Regions from separate parts of the Homo sapiens genome. Here regions 2, 3 and 4 are each linked to region 1. Evidence: promoter capture Hi-C in 16 types of primary human blood cells and fetal thymus (Javierre and others, 2016). All regions are on one chromosome and are shown on one strand. Each heading gives the region's core, a stretch centred on a gene start or on the middle of the fragment in contact. The rest is flanking DNA. Distances are from core to core; before and after follow the strand shown.

Region 1 (3,348 bases), core at 849-3,348:
GTCCACTCCAAGATGCGGACAATGAGTGTATGAAGACAGACTGAGAATGCGCTGCAAAGAAGCTTGGAAGAAAATGAAGGCAGAGAGGACAGACCTGAAAGGCTAAGAGGGACAGATCAGCGTCCATGGAAAGCAGGAGCAGAAGCCAGTCTTCTTCCAAACACTGGCACAAACCACTGCCTACTGGATACATTTCACCAGACAATTCACCCCAGTGTCCAAGAGTTTATCTTGCTTCTAGAATATATTGAAAAGAGCCACCCTCTGAACAAATGGCAAACACTATATAGTATAAATAGGATGCACTGAAAATAGTAGGCTTATTTCTTAAGCTGTCATCACGAACATTAACCAGTAATTATATTTCTCCACTTTTTGTAGAAGACATAAATGGCAAATTCTGAATTTATAATTTCTAATACTTCATTTTTCTGCTCTTGTAAAGTTCATTTTGAACTTTCAACATAAAAATATTAAAGATTTTTAATTGTGCACATTTGAACTTGTGTTACTTTGGACTTACATTGGCTGAAATTGAAATATAGTAAAAGTGCTCTAGAGTAAGCAGATCAGTTCATCAGAAGGACAGCCTTTCAATGGAAAGGGCATTCCCAAGCTGCACCAACGAAAGCATAATCCTGTTACCTGCCCTAACCTGACAGCTCTGAATTAGTCTGATCCACCTATGTGCCGTACAAAGCATTATATTGCTATGATTTCATAAACTGAACTTGAACTACACTTTTTCAGAGAAACAAAACCATGTTTAGAAATCTGCCACAAATATCTACACATTGCTCTTGAATTCCTCCAGGAATTTCCACCTACTCGTGCTGTTACTCTTCACTCTATGATTTATTTGTTTTTCAGTCCCTGTCGATACTTAAGTTTTACTCTGTAGGGAGATTCTCATGTTTGACTCCATTAAACAAGCTTTGAAACTGACACTCGCACAGGGTGTTACTTCCAGAATCTTCCTGCCAGCTCCTTGCATCCACACCATGAGAAAGAGCAAACATTCCAAATCCCAAAAAAATGAATTATTTGGGGTGAGGAAAAGTCTTGACTATGACACTGAAGATTTCCTGAAGAGATCCAGCATCCAAAATGTCCTGAGTGGGGAGGAAATCGCACACCTAGCACCCAGAGAAAATGAGTGCTATCCACAAACAACCCAGATCCTCCCAAGCTGAGGCTAACCTGCCCTTCACTTCCTACATTATTGCTACATCTACGCAGCTTCTGACTTTCCAAAGTTTCCTTTCCTTTTCTAGTCCCAAACTTATCTCTCAGGTTTGAGAAATTCAATTTTCTTGGGTTTGAATCTCAAAATTATAAAAGACAAGTAAGGTTAATCTTCTATCTCATTGGGCCCCTAAATATTTTAAGAAACACTCCATCAACCACATTTTGATCTTCTTTACTGCTGTTTTATTCTAGCATTTCTTTACTCCTACCTCTCTGTTTCTCTCTCTCTCTCTCCCCCCAAACCCCCCAACTCCCCCACCCCTCCCCACACACACACACAATTGGAGTAAATCCAGGACAAGGGCATTCACAATCTTACCATATTCTGTATTCATTAGACCTTATCTTAAGCACTGTGTTCAATTCAGATTTTGAAGGCATGTTAACAAACTGTAGAACAACGGAGTCCAGAACTGCTGTAGAGGACCAGTTGAAGGAACTAGAGAGGTATAACTAGAAAAGATACTTTTTTAGATCCTTCAGTTGTTAAAAGTCCCTAGTAATCTATTACAAACAGATTGATTTTAATAGTTCTCAACCATTTGCTAACATGTGTTTGCAGTGATGTCCTATGTGTTTGTACTCAGTTCTCTGTCTTTTTTAAAAGGGAATTTTACTTTAGACTATACATTTTCTAAAACTAGAAAAATTATTTTGGAGAAAAAGATTTGAGTATTACTTTGAAGATTTCATGAAGCTGCTGCTTCCAATCATCTGATCACTTCAGATGGTCTGATAATGTTAGATAAAACCTCTTTATCAGTAATGCACTGGAGTCCTACAGCACTACTTTCCATATTCAACAAAACCTCTCTTTGCATAGATACGTGTGTGTAAAAACAGAACATTCATACTGAGGCCAGAGTGCCATCGAAGGTAATTATAGAGACAGTAAAATCCTTTTACTCTGGGAAAAATAAAATGCTGGGTGTCTCACAAAATTTCAGAACCTGATTTCAAACGGATCATAACAAAGAGGAGATCAAATTTAGCATGGTGGACTGCTCGACAGGATATATTTGTAAGTATGAGATTCTATAAAATAGTTGATAAATACAAGACTATTGGCTTGCTATAAATCACTAGCAGATGCTGATTTCAATGGTAGAACTTCTGGGAGTGTTAACAGAGGTTTTTCTAAGAAAAAAAGACAAACTAACAAACACATATTCTTTTGCCTGGCTTTCTATATTTAAAACAAAACTTAGAGTCACTCCTTATATAAATAAATCTTCTAAGTTGGGCAACAGAGGAAATGCTACAGTTTTAAAGTATATTATTTCATTTTATGTTTTTGTGTATATTTTCATTTTAAATGTTTTTCATTTTATATGTTTAGATAAAAACATATTATAAAATCAGACATAGCTGAATTATTTGTTTCAAAAATCATGCATTACCAAATTATTAGTTCCATCCTTTGTTAACTGTACTGAAGCCAGGTGTGGATTATTATAAGGTTTATCTGAAACATTGTTAATCTTGATTTTGTAGAATTTTTTTATTCTTTTATGTTATGCTTAAGCACAACTATGCACAAATTTCTTGAATTTTTTAAAGGACAAGAAATTTGTGTGCTGTGGTCAACAAAAGCTCACTAAAATATAAATTGCTCCAAATTTTACTAAATTTTATGTAACATGCTATATCATAAAATAAAGAAACATATTTAAATGCAGATATATGTAAACAGACAGAATTGCTTTAAGAAAATTTATTTATTTTCATAATACTTTAAGATTTCATTTAAATAATGGAGGAAACAAATCTAATTCTGGCATACTACTAATACAACTCAATCCATTACCAATGCATTTATAATCACTCTGAGAATTAGATTCTATCGGTGAAATGTATTTCTTTCAAATAATTATCAGGAGAAAACAGTGGAGGCAAAATCATCGTGGAGACCTAAACTTGTTCTAAACACTCTATGTTTCGATTGTAAAAGTACACACTAGTTTTACCAAGAGGGTATTGAAAAACAAAAAAGGAAAGCAAATTAATACACAATATTAAGATAAATATAGATTATTTAAATAAAAAGTAATGGAAAATTACAAATTAAAACAGTAAAGAAATTTTTATAATAAGCCATGA
Region 2 (3,313 bases), core at 170-2,669, 140 kb before region 1:
CACTAGTGAGATATATCCCAAGTATGAAAATCTCCACAAAGAAATCACAAGCTTTATTCGGCAGCATTATTGTTAATGATAATAATGTTTGTATTGTTATTTTGAAATTACTATATGTATATGGTATAAGATAAATAAGTATGTACATGTAATTAGGAACCAAGAGTTTCAATTTAAGAAAATTTGGGGAGAAAAGGTATAAAAGCAAAATAATAGAGGTATAGAATTATCAAGGTAGAACAACATAAATTAAGACATGTAATTATATATTTAAATATAAATATTAACATGAACACATGATTTTTCCTTTTTCTAAAATATATAGACCTTGAATTTATTTTTAAAATACATAACTTGAATTTATTTTTTTAGATACATATTACATAACTACCTCTTCACTGAAAAGCTACAGAAGCAGTGGCAAACCAGTAGTAATGACCACCCCTGGGGCCCAGATTCAGGTCTCTAAACTTTAATTCTGTCCTCAGGGAACTGATTGTTTCCAGGACTGGCTGGACAATATGTTGAATAAGTCTGGAACATCTTGTTGTGCTGAAAAGCAAGAAAGCAATCAAGGATTACAGGGAACATGTCAAAGAGACAGAGAACCCAATTAGAGCAGCTCCCACTGGCGAAACTGTGGAACAGTTGGAGCAACAATAAAAATGACTGGAAAGGTCATATATATCCATAAGTTACTAATTATACAAAAACAAAACACACACGCACATACACACTCATTGGTCACCTTTGATAATTACTAGAAAATTTCAAATACTGATTTTAAAAAGAGAAAGCATTATGGATTGTTTGTTCTGTCTTTCCTGTGTGTAGTGTATTTCATGCTGTTTTCCCAAGGTAATTGTTCAGTATAAAATCCTGTTTTCTCAACTGAAGATGACTCAGAAATCTACCAGAGCACTGAACTCTCTGTGGGATCAGCTGAAGCCATTGCTGAAATTGTATCACAGGTCAATTCCTCCCTCTGCCCACTCCTGTTCCCAAGGGCACTCCCTAGTCAGTATCCTGGATGCTAACCTCCATGACAGTTTGCTTCCCAAGAAATCTAACCTGTTGCAAGCAGTTATTGTCATGTGTGGTTTAAGAAAGCAAAACCTAAAATAAGGTTTTAGAGCTGAATTAACCTGCTCCAGAGCTGGCAATGAGGAGCCTACCGCTGATGGCAGGTGGAGCACAAATAGCCTCTGGCACAAGATACCAATGCAAATGGTAATATTTTCACTAGGTTGGTGCACTGCTGAAGAGAAATGCATTAGCTAGTGCAATGTGTCAAATTGTGAAACATGGGGGAGTAGTAATTATAAGGAGACTTGAGTGAGCTCAAGTAACACTCTGGGAAGAAAGATGAAAACTAAGAGTGATTAATTTACAAATAAAAGTTAAGTGTAAAAGTCATAGGTCACCTTGGTCAGAGAGAGAGAGAGACTGGAGGAAGAGGAGTCATGTCTTTTCTCCTAAGGTGGGAAGGCAGACTGTACAGAAAAAGCTGATGACGAGGCCTATAAAAGTAGCAAAACTCCAAAAAAGGTTAAACTTCCAACCAAGGCAGGTCTGCAACACCAACATCAGGTTTCTGTCTGGGAAAAAAGTATGATCTTGACACATGAGGTAGGGAGAGCTAGGTTGGTGTATCTGAACATCTTGAACTCTCTTCCAAAAAATATTGATCCCAAAAGCAATGCTTACTAAATGCCCTCCACTTATCTCCATCTCAATGTCTGCCTTTCAGGAAAATCAATCTGCCATAGTAACCAAATACCTAATGAAAATCTTCTCCATGGAAGAATTCTAGCTAATAAATGTAAAAAGATTATAGAATTAGTAAATCACCATTGGCAAACTGTAATGAAATTATCTGGCCTCTCATCACTATATAACAAGCAACACATTAACCTACTGATCAATCTTAACATCACTAAAAGTGAAACTCAATAATATGCCCCCTACATGCCCCTGATGCAATGAAAGATGCTATGTATAGCACCACCTATAAAGTATTTTTTCCAAAGTTGAATCTGAATCTAATCAAGTCTATCAATTGTCAACTTACAGGAAATATGGGTGATAGAGATACAACCACCATACCTAGAGGTAGAAAAATAATAAACTAGTATCTTCAACAAATATATGACATTATTTTAAAAAGCCATTTAGAGACATATTAACTAAATACAATATGTGGTCTGTGTTTGGATCTTGATTCAAAAAACTGTAAAAAGACATGTTTTTAGATAAAAGAAGAAAATAGAACATTGGGCCACTTATTGGATGATGTGACATTATTTGTAAAATGTTGTTATTCGTGATGAAATACTGCTAAGCTAAGCCTTTTTTATAATTATCTATTAAAGATGTATATTGTAATATTTATATGTGAAATTATGCAATATCTGTTATGTGGTTTATAATAATCTAGAGAAAACTCATATATAAGATAGGGTATAGACAAATAAGAATGGGAAAATGTTGATAATTGTTGAGCTGGGTGATGGGTAGATAGGAATTCATTATATTGTCAACTTTAGTACACATTTAAAATGTTCCAAAATAAGTTTCTAATAATTATTTACATCTTTAATGTTACTCTACATATAATACCAAATCAAAAGATTGAGTTAAGAGTTTATGAGGTAATTAAGTTTAAGAAATATTAGAATTTTAGGAAAATCTCTTCAGGGCATTAGCCTATGCAAAGAATTTATGACAAAGACCCCAAAAACAAATGCAAGAAAAACAAAAATAGATACATGGGACTTAACTAAACTAAAAAGCTTCTGGATAGCAAAAGAAATAACCAACAAAATAAATAGACTACCTATAGAGCGGGGGAAAATATTTGCAAATTATGTCCCTGGCAAAGGACTAATATCCAGAATTCACAAGGAACTGAAATAACTCAAGAAAAAAGGAAACCACCCCATTAAAAACTGGGCAAGGGACATGAACAGACATTTCGCAAAAGAAAAAATACAAATGGCCAACAAACTCATGAAAAAATGCTCAATATCACTAATCACCCGAGAAATGCAAATTAAAAACACATTAAAATATCATCTTACATCAGTCAGAATGGCTTCTATTAAAAAGTCAAAAAACAAAAGATGGTGTAGATGCGGGGATAAGGGAATGCTTATATACTGTTGGTGGGAATATAAATTAGTTCAACCTCTATAGAAAATAGTATGGAGGCCAGGCTCGGTGGCTCATGCCTATAATCCCAGCACTTTGGGGGGCTGAGGTGGGTGGATCACTTGAAATCAGGCATTTGAGACGAGCCTGGCCAATGTGGTGA
Region 3 (3,299 bases), core at 619-3,118, 190 kb before region 1:
AAAACAAAAGCAAGGACTGAGTCGTAGAGGAAGGCAAGTTAAGATGAGGAAATGGCAAAGAAAACTAAGATAAAGTTACAACACATATACATAAAAAATTGCCCAAACAAGAAAACGTTCTGTCCCTCCTAACCTCAAAGGGCTGAAACATCTTCACAATGTTGCCATAAGTTACCCAAAGATAAGGGGAAGGCACCCGGCTAGAACTGGGCACCATTGTCTCACCTTATAAGAAACACGAAACTACATGTTCCAGTCATCTCAGTGGACAAACTCTTCTAGCTCATTCCAGGAAAGGGTGTCAGGTTACACTGAAGATCAATAACTCAAATGTGTGATCACGAGATAGAACTAGTTCAGTCACCAAAACATTCATATTCATTCAACGAATAATGACTGAGAGCCAGGTATGTAAGTCACTGTCCCAGGTGATGAATTCGGAGTTCTTATTAAATTCAGAGCCTATTTCTCAGACTACAAATGCAAAAGCATCCATAAGTAGGCCGGGTGCGGTGGCTCATGCCTGTAATTCCAGCACTTTGGGAGGCCGAGGCAGGAGAATCACAAGGTCAGGAGTTCAAGACCAGCCTGACCAACATGGTGAAACCCCGTCTCTACTAAAAATATAAAAATTAGCCGGGCCCAGTGGCACACACCTGTAATCCCAGCTACTCAGGAGACAGAGGCAGGAGAATCATTTGAATCTGGGAGGTGGAGGTTACAGTGAGCAGAGATTGCACCACTGCACTCTAGCCTGGGCAACAGAGCAAGACTGCATCTCAAATATATATATATCCGTAAGTATACACTATAATTATATAGGACCCTTTACAGTAATAGCAAAATGTTTTTGATCACTTAGTATATGCCAAGCACTATTTACACAGATTGCATTTTACAAAGATGACCACAAAAATATCTTCCACCCATAGGTCCTCCTGCAATGTGACCTTGCCCATTCTTAAATGAAGTCTAGTTCCCATTTCCTTGGCATCTAGGCTGGATGTAGTGAACAGCTGGTAACTAAAAGAACATAGGGAAAGTGACTTCCTGTGAAATCTGAGGCTAGGTCAGAAAAGCCACACATCTTCTACCTCGTTGTTTGGAATGCTTGCTTTCCACATACCCTCTCTGAAGATACTCCCTCTTGGAGCCCAGTCACCATGCTGCAAGAAGCACACACCAAGTGGAGAGAACACATGTGTAATCCCCAGTGGACACCACAGAGGAGCTTGCTATTCAAGTCATTACAACTACGTGTGTATATAAGGAACTCTGCACATGATTACACCACCAGCATTTGATGCATCCCTGGCTATTTGAGCCTTCTGGGCTGAGGTACCAGATATCCCCAGTTCCTAAACCACAGAATCTATGAGCATAATACAATAGTTTGCATTTTATTCCACTAAATTTTAAAAGTGGTTTATTAAGCAGCAATAAATGACTGGATAAAGTTCGTTAACAGTTTTTATCATATAATTTCATTTAATCTTCTAGAGAAACCTATTAGCCAGTTATTATTCTCTGCATTTTACAAAGGGAACCCAGCCTGAAAATAAAATGATTAATACAGCTAATAAATGATAGAGCCACCATTCAAACACAATTACAGAATTGGAAATTGTAAAGACAGCATTATTATACATCCTTTGGGTAAGAAAATTCTGGTAGGCACTGAATAAACATGAAAAGAATATATAAAATAACCCATATTTTGAGATTTCTGTAAACAATGTAAGAAGTCAAAACACATATATGTGACAACTGCTCTTATCTCAAAATCTTTAATTCAACAACTGGGCAAATGGTGCATTTATTCATTAATCAGACTTTCAATAAGTGGCCCCTGGGTGCCTAACATTGTATTAATCAGAAAACCAGCCAAAGGTATAGGCAGAGAGAACAAAAAGTAGTGTAATGAAAGAGAGGGAACTTTCACAAATCACCCATTTGTCCTCTATTCTGGAAGTAAGGTATCTGAAACACTTTGTTAATAAAAGAAACAGATTTGTATTGTTAAAGGTTTGTGGAAATGATTCATCAAAGTGATACATGACTCATGCACAGAAAACTGGATTTTAAAAGAGTACATAAAGTATGGAAGAAATAACCAAAATATGTATGTATGTTCCTGGATGGGAGAGGAAATAAAGGAGAGATACAGAGAGGAGAGTATGCATGGGATTGTTTCTGCAAAGAATAAATGTGTGGCAGTTAGCATTGTGCATGTTTAGAGCAATGGTTTATATGCATAGATTTAGGATTCTACTATCTATATTTTTTAAATATCTTTCTACAAAATCTACATAGATTGTGAAGGAGAAACAGTTTTTCTCATATTCCTGGGAAGAATAAAGATCACCTTTGAAGACACAGAAAATGTTCATATCTCTTCTAGACTTTCAATGTTAAATAGCTCATTTTTTAAGTCAGAAAACATGAAAAAGTCCATGAAAATGGCAGTTAGAGCTGCAGTGCCCAGATTCTATGCTGCCTCTCAGTTTGTCCAGTGAACATCATGGGAGACTTTGTGTTTGGTCAGAATGCATTATCATTACCTGTCTTTAATCTCAACTCATTTAAGATCTTAATTAGTGGAGATAGAAAGTGTGTGCAGGTGTGAGTGTGTGTATGGGTTATTTTAGCATATTGATATGTAGCAGAAATGAGATCTCAGTCAATTCCATTTTCCAGCTTTACAATGGAAATTTAAACACTGTTTGTTACAATGTTGCCATTGAAAATATTATTCCAATTTTATACAATACAAATTTATTTATCTGAAACATTTTTCCTTCGAAGAAACTAAACTACTCACAAAAGTGTTCATTAACCCACATAACTCCAAGATACTGTGTCTTTATTTAGCTGAGCATTTGGTTCTTGAAAAGTAAGTCTTGTTGGCTCAGATGTTAGCATTGCAGCATTATTTGGAAATAAGCAGAAGGTTTGTAAACAGGGGGTTTAAAAAACTTAAAACTTAAACTTCTAGCTGATGAGGGAGTGCCAACCAGCGTATGGAAAGATCAGTGTTGAGTCTAATTTTATTTGGTTCAGTTTATAGATGCGGTGAGTGAGGAGATGGAGAGTTTTGCAAGTACAAGTTAATGTTAATATGCAAAGTGGTTAAGATAATGTTTATCTCTCTAATCTATTAAAATTATTTTACTCCACACCCCAAGAAATAGGAAGAATAGTAATCATTTCATGATAATATTCACATTCGTGATATTAGCAAGTTAATGATGAATTTATACTCACTGTTATTGATCAAATGTGATTGATAACAATATTAA
Region 4 (3,244 bases), core at 198-2,697, 170 kb before region 1:
TTCTTTCACCACTTAGCTTTCAGTTAATGCACATTATCTGAAAACTTTGTTATATAATCCGCAATCTTTCCTCCAATCCCAATTACTGCAATTATCCTTCCATTTTTACCTGAATGATGGAGTAAAAATCCCTGCTCTTCAGCTTCCTCACTTCTTCATCTCCTTTATTTTTCATCTCCATTCTACCTCTGATAGAACGGAGATGAAGGCCGGGCGCGGTGGCTCACGCCTGAAATCTCAGCACTTTGGGAGGCTGAGGCAGGTGGACCACCAGGTCAGGAGATCGAGACCATCCTGGCTAACATGGTGAAACCCCATCTCTACTAAAAATACAAAAAGAAATTAGCCGGGCGTGGTGGCGGGCGCCTGTAGTCCCAGCTACTCGAGAGGCTGAGGCAGGAGAGTGGCGTGAACCCGGGAGGCGGAGCTTGCAGTGAGCTGAGATCGCGCCACTGCACTCCAGCCTGGGCGACAGAGCGAGACTCCGTCTCAAAAAAAAAAAAAAAAAAAAAAAAAAAAAAGAATGGAGATGAAATTAGAACGTGTCACCATCTCAAATTCCTTCACCTCTTAAATCTTAAACTTTAATTTCCTATCACCAACAATTTTCAGCATTCCGTCTTTCCCTCCCTCTCACTAAGACTACATTTTAAGTCTTTTGAGAAAATTCTGGGAAAAGAAGGCTGAGCCAATGTCTCTGACTCTTCTTTTCTCTTCTTAGAAACTATCCAAAAGTAACAAGGGGAAGAACAGAAAGGGGAAGAACAGAAAAGACCACTACACCTTCAGTAAAATTAACAAAAGCTCATAACCCTGAATGGAAATATACAAAGATGAGCTCTGAAGTACAATGAAAATTGGACCAGGGCATTGACTGCTTGTAGGAGATCTGAGCAGAGCGCTGGTACAGTGCTCAGGGCAGGGCTTGCTCTAGTTGCATCACACCTTAAGGGGCAAACAGTGGTCTCCTGCTAGAATAGCAAGATTCCAGTGGGTGGACAGGCATTGGGAGCCTCCCTGATGCCTTTGTATTACAAAGAAGTGGCCGGGAAGGTGGAACTGAAAGAGGAAATATATAGAAAACTGCCTTTGCTGTGAGAGTGGCGGCATAGAAAATAAAATATAAATAGCAAGCAGTCCTGTACCAGCTAGAAAAGAAGAAAAGATCTCAGCACTCCTGTGCGTGTACATTTGGAAAAACACGTATGTGGGTGACACAGTGGACTTCGCAGAGCCCCCCAGGGGACCTTCCTGCTACCCTAAAATATGGAAGAGTATAACAAAACACTTGGAGAAATCTGTCTGAATTTTTAAACCGCAAGCCCACCTTCCTCTCTGATACCTCTCCCAACTCTTCTTCAAAACTAACCGGTTGTCCAAAATGAGCAATACTTAGGAAATAAAGAAAGAAATAGAAGAAGGATGAGGAGAGGAATTCACTAAACAAAAGGCAGATGATCATTGGTCAAAAAATAAATACAACAAAATAAGTGATTGCTATTTGCACACCTGACTCCCTGCACCAGACTGTAAACCACTATTTTTTGTATTCCCAGCACCAAGCAGAGTGACTTGTACCTAATAAATAGTGCATCTAGATTTGATGAATAAATAAGTGATTTTCTGAAGTAGCATTTCAAATATTACTGATCTTCTCGAGAATATTACTTGGGGTGATTGAGTCTTCCTGGATTTTCTGAAATCAAAGAAATATAAGTAATTTTCTGTGCTAAGTTTAATTAAGGCAGGTCCTTTTTTTGTTCAGTATCCTTAAAGTTTTAATGAAAAGTTGTTCCCATGATGGTGATATGTAAGTTCACAGACGTGGTTTTGCATTTTTTTCTTTTTCTTTTTTTTATTATACTTTAAGTTTTAGAGTATATGTACACAACGTGCAGGTTTGTTACATAGGTATACATGTGCCGTGTTGGCTTGCTGCACCCAATAACTCATCATTTACATTAGGTATTTCTCCTATTGCTATCCCTCCCCCAGCCCCCCACCCCACAACAGGCCCCATTGTGTGATGTTCCCCCCTGTGTGTCCAAATGATCTCATTGTTCAATTCCCACCTATGAGTGAGAACATGCGGTGTTTGGCTTTCTATCCTTGTGATAGTTTGCTGAGAATGATGGTTTCCAGCTTCATCCATGTCCCTGCAAAGGACATGAACTCATCCTTTTTAATGGCTGCATAGTATTACATGGTGTATATGTACCACATTTTCTTAATCCAGTCTATCATTGATGGACATTTGGGTTGGTTCCAAGTCTTTGCTATTGTGAATAGTGCCACAATAAACATACGTGTGCATGTGTCTTTATAGCAGCATGATTCATAATCCTTTAGGTATATACCCCGTAGTGGGATTGCTGAGTCAAATGGTGTTTCGAGTTTTAGAGCCTTGAAGAATCACCACGCTGTCTTCCACAATGGTTGAACTAATTTACACTCCCACTAACAATGTCAAAGCATTCCTATTTCTCCACATCCCCTCCAGCATCTGTTGTTTCCTCACATTTTAATGATTGTCATTCTAACTGGCATGAGATGGTATCTCATTGTGGTTCTGATTTGCATTTCTCTGATGACTAGTGATGATGAGCATTTTTTTTTCATGTGTTTGTTGGCTGCATAAATGTCTTCTTTTGAGAAGTGTCTGTTCATATTCTTTGCCATTTTTTGATGGGGTTGTTCGTTTTTTTCTTTTACATTTGTTTGAGTTCTTCGTAGATTCTGGATATTAGCCCTTTGTCAGATGGGTAGATTGCAAAAATTTTCTCCCATTCTGTAGGTTGCCTGTTCACTCTGATGGTAGTTTTTTTGCCATGTAGAAGCTCTCTAATTTAATTAGATCCCGTTTGTCTATTTTGGCTTTTGTTGCCATTGCTTTTGGTGTTTTAGTCATGAAGTCCTTGCCAATGTAATGCAGATCCTTTTAAAAGTTTAATTAATTCAACAAATATTTGTTGGGTTCTTTACTAAGTGCAGATCAATTTGTGAGGTTCTACCTTGGATCTAAAAACAAGACCTCAAGTTGCACATCTACTATTTAATTAATTCAATTCTTAGTTTTTTTTATTTTTAACTTTTAACTATTACGCGTACATAATAGATGTATATGTTTAAGAGATACATGTGCTGTTTTGATACAGGCATGCAATGTATAATAATCACATAAGGGTAGTTAAGGTATCCATCACCTCAAGCATTTATCATTTCTTTGTGTTAGGGACTTTCCAAT

The links. Contacts are between HindIII fragments. The CHiCAGO score rates a contact against its expected background, and 5 or more counts as called.
Region 2: a fragment that was not itself captured here is called in contact with the fragment with the promoter of RGS13 in region 1 in 1 of 17 cell types (total CD4 T cells); the score reaches 5.2 in total CD4 T cells.
Region 3: a contact is called between a fragment that was not itself captured here and the fragment with the promoter of RGS13 in region 1, in 2 of 17 cell types (total CD4 T cells and naive CD4 T cells). The highest score is 6.9, in total CD4 T cells.
Region 4: a fragment that was not itself captured here is called in contact with the fragment with the promoter of RGS13 in region 1 in 7 of 17 cell types (total CD8 T cells, total CD4 T cells, non-activated CD4 T cells and 4 more); the score reaches 10.9 in total CD8 T cells.

Annotation. Positions count from the first base shown.
Region 1 is chr1:192,634,049-192,637,396 of GRCh38, forward strand. It overlaps RGS13 (regulator of G protein signaling 13), which reads left to right and starts at 2,099. Exons shown (of 7, transcript NM_002927.5): 1 at 2,099-2,269. It overlaps LOC107985241 (a long non-coding RNA gene), which reads left to right. Exons shown (of 2, transcript XR_001738348.2): 2 at 1-502. The HindIII fragment of the contact is 2,675 bases long and covers 932-3,348 here.
Region 2 is chr1:192,491,418-192,494,730 of GRCh38, forward strand. No RefSeq gene overlaps it. Among named protein-coding and RNA genes, the nearest start is that of RGS1, 83 kb to the right of the region's middle. The HindIII fragment of the contact is 2,741 bases long and covers 50-2,790 here.
Region 3 is chr1:192,441,776-192,445,074 of GRCh38, forward strand. No RefSeq gene overlaps it. Among named protein-coding and RNA genes, the nearest start is that of RGS21, 130 kb to the left of the region's middle. The HindIII fragment of the contact is 7,303 bases long and covers 1-3,299 here.
Region 4 is chr1:192,462,945-192,466,188 of GRCh38, forward strand. No RefSeq gene overlaps it. Among named protein-coding and RNA genes, the nearest start is that of RGS1, 110 kb to the right of the region's middle. The HindIII fragment of the contact is 4,743 bases long and covers 1-3,244 here.